Regions from separate parts of the Homo sapiens genome. Here region 2 is linked to region 1. The links are contacts of gene promoters, found by promoter capture Hi-C in blood cells and fetal thymus (Javierre and others, 2016). All regions are on one chromosome and are shown on one strand. Each heading gives the region's core, a stretch centred on a gene start or on the middle of the fragment in contact. The rest is flanking DNA. Distances are from core to core; before and after follow the strand shown. Region 1 holds the start of HDGFL2 (HDGF like 2). Region 2 holds the start of DAPK3 (death associated protein kinase 3).

Region 1 (4,551 bases), core at 202-2,701:
AGTAGCTGGGACTACAGGCGCCTGCCACCACGCCTAGCTATTTTTTTTGTATTTTTAGTCGAGACGGGGTTTCACTATGTTAGCCAGGATGGTCTCGATCTCCTGACCTCGTGATCCACCCACCTCGGCCTCCCAAAGTGCTGGGATTACAGGCGTGAGCCACCACGCCCTGCCGGAAGGTAGAGTTATAGCTTTTTTTTTTCTGCTCTGTCACCCAGTCTGGAGTGCAGTGGCGCGATCTCGGCTTACTGCAACCCCCCGCTCCTGGGTTCGAGTGATTCTCCTGCCTCAGCTTCCTGAGTAGCTGGTATAGGTGCGTGCCACCACGCCCAGCTAATTTTTGTATTTTTAGTAGAGACGGGGTTTCACCATGTTGGCCAGGCTTGGTCTCAAACTCCTGACCTCGTGATCCGCCCGCTTCGTCCTCTCAAAGTGCCGGGGTTACAGCCGTGAGCCATCGCGTCCGGCCGAGTTATAGCTTCTAATACTTCCTGTATTTCCTGTTGCCGGGCTCAGTCTAGAGCAGGGTCCTCACAATCATTATGGGCCCCATCTTCCAAGTGCAGAGAGCGAAGCCCAGGACAATCAAGTGACTCGGCCCCACGGTATTCAGTACATTTTTCTTGAATGAATGAATAGGTCTGTGTGGCGTTTTGGGGCCCTGGCATATAGTAGGTACTCAGTTAAGTTTTTAACTAAGTGAAGAAATAACTATTTTGTGCATTTTGTGGCTGTTTATACTAAGAGCTCCCCCGGAGCCTGCCCCTTCCTCTAAGTCCCGCCTCCTCGAGCTGGCAATCGCCCGTCCCTGTTTTATGTTGTATCGCTCTTCTTTCGATAGCCAATGGCCGACGTTCCCGCTGAAGCCCCGCCTCTTGTGATGGCCAATGCCTGCTCCCTACCTTGAGGCGCTTCTCTTGTGGTATCCAATGGCTTGCATATCTACTTTAAGCCTCTCCTCCTGAGCGGGAGAGGCTGTCAATGACCCGCCCATTGCGTTAAGTGATTGGCCTTCTTTTCTGCGGTATCCAATGTTCTGCCCTCCTTATATCCCCTTCTCTTGTGGAGGTCTATGTCCTGCCTCTTTCCCTTAAGCTCCACCCCTTCACTCCCTTAGAGCGTCTGTTCGTCTCCTCCCACCTTTCCCTTTCACCTCCCATAACCTCCCATTAGAGTCTCTGGGTTACGCCCCTTGGGTCTGTCCGTTATCCAATCCCGTTAACTGCTGTGCTCCAACCTCTGTTCTTATTGGTCGCCTCCCTTCTCTGTCCCCTGCACGTGGTCCTGATCGACGGCTTTGCCGGCCCGTGACGGCCGGAGGGCTGAACTTCCGTTGGCGCAACGCCCAATAAGCGCGCGTCGGCAGGCTGCCCAGACAGCCTCCCCCGCCCCCTCGGCGTCCCGCTCCCGCCCCCGGCTTCGCCTCCCGCTGCCGCCGCCGCCGCCGCCGCAGCCGCTACCGCCGCTGCAGCCGCTTTCCGCGGCCTGGGCCTCTCGCCGTCAGCATGCCACACGCCTTCAAGCCCGGGGACTTGGTGTTCGCTAAGATGAAGGGCTACCCTCACTGGCCTGCCAGGGTGAGGCCGCGCGGGAGATGGGGCCGGTGGGGGGGGGGGGGGGGGCAGCGGGGGCCCCGGGCCGGAGGCGGGCACTGGAGGGCCGGGGTTGTCCTGGGCCTGAAGGAGCTGCGCCCCGGGGGTCTGGGGTTCATGGGGTCTGGGGGTGTCCGAGACCCGCAGCGGCCCCGCCCTGGGGGTCTGGGGGTCCTGGGCCGCAGGGAGCTGCGCCCTAGGGGTCTGGGGTTGTCCGGGGCCTGCCGGAGCCGCGCCCCGGGGTCTAGGGATCCTGGGCCTCAGGGAGCCCCGCCCTCGGGGCCTGGGGGTCCTGGGCTGCAGGGAGCCGCGTTCTTGTGGTCTGGTGGTGTTCGGATCCTGCAGGACCCGCCGTCTGGGCCTGCAGGAGCCCCTCCCGGGGTCTGGGGGTCCTCGGCCTCAGGGAGCTGCGTCCTGGGGTTCTGGGGGTGTCCAAGCCCTGCAGGAGCCGCGCCCCGGGGTCTGGGGGCCCTGGGCCTCAGGGGGCCGCGCCTAGGGGTTCTGAGGGTGTCTGCGGCCTGAGAGACTCTCGCCCTTGGTGTATGAGGGTTTTGGGGCTCAGAGAGTCGCTCCCTGGGAGTCTGGGGGTATCCTGGGCCCGAGGGAGTCGCACCTTGGGGGTTTGGGGGTGTTTGGGGCCTGAAAGAGCCGCGCGCCGACGGTCTGGGGGTCCCGGGCCCGAGGAAGCGGTGCCCTGGGGGTCTGGGGCCTGATAAATTCTCACTCTGGGGGAATGGCGGTCCTGGACCTGAGGGAGCTGCGCCGTGGGGATCTGGGGGGTGTCCAGGGCCTGAAGGAGCTGCGGCGCCAATGGTCTGGGGGTCCTGGGCCTGAGGAAGCTGCGCTCTGGGGGTCTGGGGCTTCTGTGCCTGAGGGAGCTGCACCATGGGGATCTGGGGTTGCCCTGGCCCAGAGGGAGCCACGCCTCGTGTGTCTGGGGGTGTCCAGGGTGCCTCAGGGAGCCGTGCGCAGGGTGTCTGGGAGGGTCTGGGACCTGAGGGACCCTCACCTGAGGGCCTGGGGATCCCAGGCCTGAGGGCTCAAGGTTCAAGTTTGAGCAGAACTGCGGAACTTGAGATTTGGGGTCAGATATGGGGGCTGAAGCACTCCCTTGTGGGTCCTGGAGAAGCCCAGTTTTGAGGGGCTGGGGGGCCGAGGGCCATGTGCTAGGGGTCCAGGGTTGGAGGAGGCAGTCAGGGGGGAAGGTTGAGGGTCAAGGCTAAGGGAAGCTGGGACCTCTGAGTGAGGGGCTGGGGGTGGGGGAATGGGGCTCGGGGCTCTGTTCACGGGGTCACTGGGACTCGGGGAACTGGACCTTAGAATGAAGTTGGCATCGGGACTGTTGGGGGACCCTGGGGATTGGTCCCCTGTGGGGAGGAGGATGTAGAAGCTGGTTTTGGAGGGACTTGAGGGTGGGGTGGTCCAACCCCAATGCTTGAAATGGAGACAGGCCCGGGCCCAGGGAGTGGGAGCGCTTCTGAGGGAAGGGGGCTGGCCGAGGGGACCTTGGATGCCCCTTTGGTGGAAGCTGGGGTCCCGACGACCTGGATAGTCCCAGGTGTCCTGGCCTGAAGGATATTCCGCACCTTGGAGTCCCAGGTGTGGAGGGGGTGAGTTCCAGGCCCTGAGAGGTACAGGCCAGCGGGAAGCAGGGACCCCAGGCTATTGTCATCCCCAGGTCTTAGGGCTGAGTCTCCCAGGGCTGAGGTTGGTGGAATTTGCCGGGCAGGACTGAGGAATTTGGCACTGGGGGTGGAAGGCTGGGGCAGCAGGGAGGGGCTGTGGAGGGGGACACCAAACGGTGCTCTGGACCAGAACCAGCCCAGGTCCGAAGCTGGCAATGCCGCTGGGATGGGTGGGCCTCGGAGGACCGTGGGCGGGTCTTGGGAGAAGCGGGGCTGTGAGGCATGCCGGGCTGGTCCTCGGGTGGACTGAATTTAGGATGCTTCTGGCGGGAGAGGGATGCTGGGCCTGGCGGCCCATGGCCGAGCCCAGGGGCCAGGGACTCTGATAAAGTAGCTCTGAGGAGACCCAAGCGAGAAGGAAGCTGGGTGAGTGGGGCAGGGAAGATCGGGAGCCCCCTAGAAGCTGGAGACGTGGATGGGGAAGGAATGCATTGGGAGGGGAGAAGCCACTCCAGCCTGCTGTGCTCGCGCTGACTTTCTTGGGGGAGACCAGAGCAATGCAACTTTATAGGCACTTCCCTCCCTTTCCCAGCTCTCTTCTTCCCAGAGCACTCGCTTTTCTCTCCCCCGTCCCCCCTTCTCCAGCCTGCTCTCCTAGCCCCAAACGTTTCCAAGCACCTGATTGGAAGTGAAGGGGCTGTTAGTCTCCTGTGGGGAGGTGACTGACAGCTGCCGGAGCCCATGGGCCTGCAGGGAGAGGGTGGGACTTCCTGGATGCTCAGGGCCGTTTCTTGTAGCCCACCCCCCACCCTCTGCATCCTTGGAGCTGCCAGCTGCATCCTCTGGGGGACCGCCCGTGAGCCCCTCTTTGCGGGAGGGGTCCCCAGGAAAGGTCCTGGGAGTCCATAGACGCTGAGCTTGGCCCCACCCCCTGGTTGCTTCAGAGGGCCGGATCTGGCTTTGCTCAGGTGGAGCACCTGCCCTGGGGCCAGCTCCGTCCCTGGGGTAGGGGGAGAGCTCTCTGGGTGGGGCACAGCTTTGCAGTGAAGGGTACACAGAAGAATGCAGCTTCCCATCGGGAAGGGGCTGCTGCTTCCTGGGTTGAAGGCTCCCCTCCTCCCAGCGTGATTTGCCCCAAGTAACTTGGCTGATTTCTCGGTGATTTCCTGGGTCAGTGGGTAAAGCCACCCCCTCACTGGCCTCTCACTGCAGATCGACGACATCGCGGATGGCGCCGTGAAGCCCCCACCCAACAAGTACCCCATCTTTTTCTTTGGCACACACGAAACGTAAGTGTCCCCTTCTGGGGCTTGGTTTTCTCCTCTGGTGCCTCC
Region 2 (4,756 bases), core at 337-2,836, 500 kb before region 1:
GTCTGACTCCACGGCCCAAATTCGTTCCCCCACCGCATGATACTGACTCATTCCTTCTCAGCATACAGGATAAAGAACAGGAAAGGAGAGCTGCTGTTCAGAAAACCCCACAGCGCCTCTCTCCTATCCCTGGAGCCCAGCCGTGCGGGCAGACAGCTCACCTGCCCAGCTCCTCCCCCATCTCATAATGGTCCTCCACGTCCTCCTGCCTGAACGTGGACATGGCGGCCGGTCCGCCTTCCAGCAGCTTCCACTCCAGGGAAAGTGCAGTCACCGCAGCCTGGAGATAGGACCTCAGGAGTCCCCTAATGGCAACCCTGGAGAAGACAGGGAAAGACAGAAGTGAGGAACTGAGACACCACCCTTTTCTCCTAGATTAATGGACAGACCTGTCCAGCAAACACAAGCCTCCCACCTCTCCACTCTGAAGCTCCAAACTCGACAAAAAGAGGTGCTGTGTTTACTGGGCTGGGTCCTGTCATGTCACCTCTTAGAGCCCCATAACCACTCAAAAGTTTGGTAACAGCCCCACTGGGCCACCTTCACCCCGCAAAACTCTCTCCAGACACATAATTCTGATTTCCCCGACGCTGCCTGCGTCTTTTTTTGCCTCTCACTCCTAGACTTCTCTCAACCTGCTCAGCCAAAATCCCCCACCATTCCTGCACGTTCTCCTCAACCTCAAATCCCAGGGCTACCTTACTCCCTGGCCAATGTCTTAACGAAGTTCTCAAGTCTACTTCTTTTGTTGTTGGTGTTGTTGTTTTTTGAGAAGGAGTCTCGCTCTGTCGCCCTGGCTGGAGTGCAGTGGTGCAATCATGGCTCACTGCAGCCTGGAACTCCAAGGCTCAAGCGATCGTCCCAGGCCTCCCAAAGTGCTGCCATTCCGATCAAAATTCCCAAGTTACTACCTTAACCCCTCCTGGTCCTTGCCCTCGGCAGGTCTCTTAAGACCCTCATCGATGGAACACCCCCGCCCACCCCCAACCATCTCTGACTCCCTCCAATTCTGAATTTTCCAAGAACCGGACGACGCCTTCCACGCTCCTGAAAGCCCACTTTGCCTCCCTCCCCCGCTGACCTCCACTGTCCTCGCAAGATTAACCTCTTCCTCCACGCTCCATGTATCAAAGTCCCCCAACCGCCGTCTCCCCTACCCCCCAAAACGGGCCGCCAAAAAGGGCCCCATCTGAGTCTCCTCCACCGTCCTCTGCCCCTTCTCGCCCGCAATCTCCGCACAAGCCCCTAGGCAGACCCCAGTGGCTCCCTTTGCAGAACCTCCCCCCGCCCCCAAGGCCTTGCCCATCCCTAAGGCTCCGCTCCAGCATCCCTGGGGCCGCTACGCCCCTCGCACGCCCGGCCGAGCCCTTTCCCCGGCCCGGTCACCCAGATGGGTCCCCAAACCTACCAGCTCCTCAGATTCTCTCCCTCCCTCGTCCTCCGCGGGCCCCCGAAGCGCCGCTCTGGCCCCACCCAGCCCTCCAGCCTCGGCCCGAGCCCGCTCTTTACCCTCCGCAGCCCGGAGAATACGGCCGGCGCCGCCGCGCTGGCCACCGCCGCCGCCTCCAGAAGCCCCGCGCCCCTGCCGCCGCGACGCGCCTGCGCCGACGTCACCGCACCCGCCAGTGCCCACCCCCGGGAAACGAACCCCGCCGCCTATTGGCCGGTGCGCCCGCCGCTCGTGCCGCACCTCGACGTCCCGCCCCCAGCTGCCTTTTCGGCACCCACACCCGGATGCAGCCTCACCACTGGCTGAACACTCGCCATCCCTGATTTCATTGGCTGCAGTCGACGCTGGTCAAGCGGACGGAAAAAAGGCCGACTTCCGGTCCCTTCATCGCCCCGCCCGCCTCTCCTCTGACCCAGGTGCTGAAGCTGCGAGAAGTGAGGCTGAAGCCCTGCATCCCGCTTCCTGCCTTCCTGGAGCACCGGTTGGGCGAATGGATGGCTCACCTGTGGCCGAGCGCGCCTGGCAGCTCCTGGAGTGGACCCTGGGACTGCTTTAGTCCCTATGTGGCAGTTTCCTCCACTGAAAACTGTTACCCACATTCTAAATACTTAAAATGCAAATGAGGTCAATCTGGGGTTGTCATACACAGGGTCCCTCTTCGTCTCAAAATAGAGGGTAACAGCAAGCATTTTATTGAGACATAGTATGTGCCAACTGACAACACTGGGAGGTATCAGGTTTGTTTTTTTTTTAATTTTATTTTTTGAGACAGGGTCTCACTCTGTCACCCAGGCAGGAGTGCAGCGGCGGTATCCAGCTCACTGCAACCTCCACCTCCCGGGTTCAAACGATTCTCGTGCCTCAGCCTCCCAAGTAGCTGGGATTACAGGTGCCCATCACCACGCCCGGCTAATTTTTGTATTTTTAGTAGAGACGGGGTTTCACCATGTTGCCCAGGCTGGTCTCGAACTCCTAAGCTCAGGTGATCCGGCACCTCAGCTTTCCAAAGTGCTGAGATTACAGGCGTGAGCCATTGCGCCCGGCCTAAATTCATTTTTTATTATTATTTTGAGACGGAGTCTCGCTCTGTCACCCAGGCTGGAGTACACTGGCACAATCTCGGCTCACTGCAAGCTCCACCTCCCAGGTTCACGCCATTCTCCTGCCTCAGCCTCCCGAATAGCTGGGACTACAGGCGCCCGTCACCACGCCCAGCTAATTTTTTGTATTTATTAGTAGAGACAGGGTTTCACCGTGTTAGCCAGGATGGTCTCGATCTCCTGACCTCCTGATCCGCCCGCCTCGGCCTCCCAAAGTGCAGGAATTACAGGCATGAGCCACCTTGCCCAGCCTTTTTTTTTTTTTTTTTTTTTTTTTGAGACAGTCTCCTTCTATCGTCCAGGCTGGAACGCAGTGGTGAGATCTGGGCTCACTGCAATCTCTGCCTCCTGGGTTCAAGCGATTCTCCTGCCTCAGCCTCCCGAGTAGCTGGGACTACAGGTGCACGCCACCACTCCCAGCTGATTTTTGTATTTTTAGTAGACGCAGGGTTTCACCATGTTGGCCAGGATGGTCTCAATATCTGTGATCCGCCGGCCTCGGCCTCTCAAAGTGCTGCGATTACAGACGTGAGCCACAAGCCGGCCTTTATATTTTTTATTTACATTTTCAACGTACAATGGGTTGGCCAGGTGTGGTGGCTCACGCCCGTAATCCCAACAGCTTGGGCAGCCAAGGCGGGCAGGTCACTTGAAGTAGGAGTTCAAGACCAGCCTGCTCAACATGGTGAAACCCTGTCTCTACTAAAAATACAAAAGTTAGCCAGGCCTGGTGGCACATGCCTGTAATCCCAGCTACTCGGGAGGCTAGCGCAGGAGAATTGCTTGAACCCAGGAGGTGGAGGTTGCAGCGAGCCGAGATCATGCCACTATACTACAGCCTGGGTGACGGAGGGAGACTCCATCTCAAAGAAAAAAAAGTGGCAGGGCATGGTGGCTAACGCCTGTAATTCCAGCATTTTGGGAGGCCACGGTGGGCAGATCACGAAGTCAGGACATCAAGACCATCCTGGCTAACACGGTGAAACCCTGTCTCTACTAATAAATACAAAAAATTAGCCGGGCATGGTGGCGGGTGCCTGTAGTCCCGGCTACTCGGGAGGCTGAGGCAGGAGAATGGCGTGAACCCGGGAGGCGGAGCTTGCAGTGAGCCAAGATTGAGCCACTGCACTCCAGCCTGGGTGACAGAGCAAAGACTGTCTCAAAAAAAAAAAAAAATTCAGCTTCCACATACCATCTTAACGTTTGCACTACTAAAAAAGAATAGGACCCGGTATGGTGGCTCACACCTGTAACCCCAGCACTTTGGGAGGCTGAGGCGGGCTGATCTCTTACGGTCGAGCTTGAGACCAGCCTGGCCAACATGGTGAAACCCCATCTCACCTAAATATACAAAAATTACACAGACCTGGTGATAGGCGCCTGTAATTCCAGCTACTCGGGAGGCTGAAGCACAAGAATTGCTTGAGCACTTGAATCCGGAGGCAGAGGCTATAGTGAGCCAAGATCACAACACTGCACTCCATCCTGGGCGATAGAGTGAGATTCTCGAAACACAGTAATCCGTTACCCTGACTGCTGGAAACAGCGTCAGTTACAGCCCCAATTCAAATGCGACAGCCAAACCAAACCTCAGGCATACCTACATGTGGGCAAAACCTCAGCTGAGGCTTGGCCTTGACAATGCAGGGCCAGAGCTGCCCCCGCCTTTGCCGAGAACCCCACAGCCCTACTTCACAGTCCCCACCTGCCTTCCTGAGGACAGAGTAAAAGGCGGAAAATGATCATGTTAACCTTATCAGCACTGACAAGATTAGGCCTCCTCACATCTTAGGCACTATTTAGAAAAACAAATAGTTTTCTAAGCTATTGGCGCTCACACCTGAAATCCCAGCACTTTGGGAGGCTGAGGCAGAAGGATCGCTTGAGCCCGGGAAGGAGACCAGCCTGAGCAACATAGTGAGACCCCATTACTACAAAAAAAGTAAAAATTAGGTCAGCACAGTGGCTCACGCCTATAATTCCCAGCACTTTGGGAGGCCGAGGCGGGTGGATCACGAGGTCAGGAGATCGAGACTATCCTGGCTAACACGGTGAAACCCTGTCTCTACTAATAAATACAAAAAATTAGCCGGGCATGGTGGCGGGCGCCTGTAGTCCCGGCTACTCGGGAGGCTGAGGCAGGAGAATGGCGTGAACCCGGGAGGCGGAGCTTGCAGTGAGCCAAGATTGAGCCACTGCACTCCAG

What was found. Contacts are between HindIII fragments. The CHiCAGO score rates a contact against its expected background, and 5 or more counts as called.
Region 2: the fragment with the promoter of DAPK3 here is called in contact with the fragment with the promoter of HDGFL2 in region 1 in 2 of 17 cell types (non-activated CD4 T cells and total B cells); the score reaches 6.1 in non-activated CD4 T cells.

The regions. Positions count from the first base shown.
Region 1 is chr19:4,470,846-4,475,396 of GRCh38, forward strand. HDGFL2 (HDGF like 2) reads left to right here and starts at 1,452. Exons shown (of 16, transcript NM_001001520.3): 1 at 1,452-1,577; 2 at 4,430-4,506. The coding sequence starts at 1,506. RefSeq lists enhancers at 98-267, 528-877, 3,367-4,316, 3,669-3,808 and silencers at 1,378-1,557, 1,588-1,647. The HindIII fragment of the contact is 12,260 bases long and covers 1-4,551 here.
Region 2 is chr19:3,969,513-3,974,268 of GRCh38, forward strand. It overlaps DAPK3 (death associated protein kinase 3), which reads right to left and starts at 1,587. Exons shown (of 9, transcript NM_001348.3): 1 at 1,409-1,587; 2 at 162-317. The coding sequence starts at 223. RefSeq lists enhancers at 9-638, 639-1,270 and silencers at 159-453, 1,442-1,571. The HindIII fragment of the contact is 26,550 bases long and covers 1-4,756 here.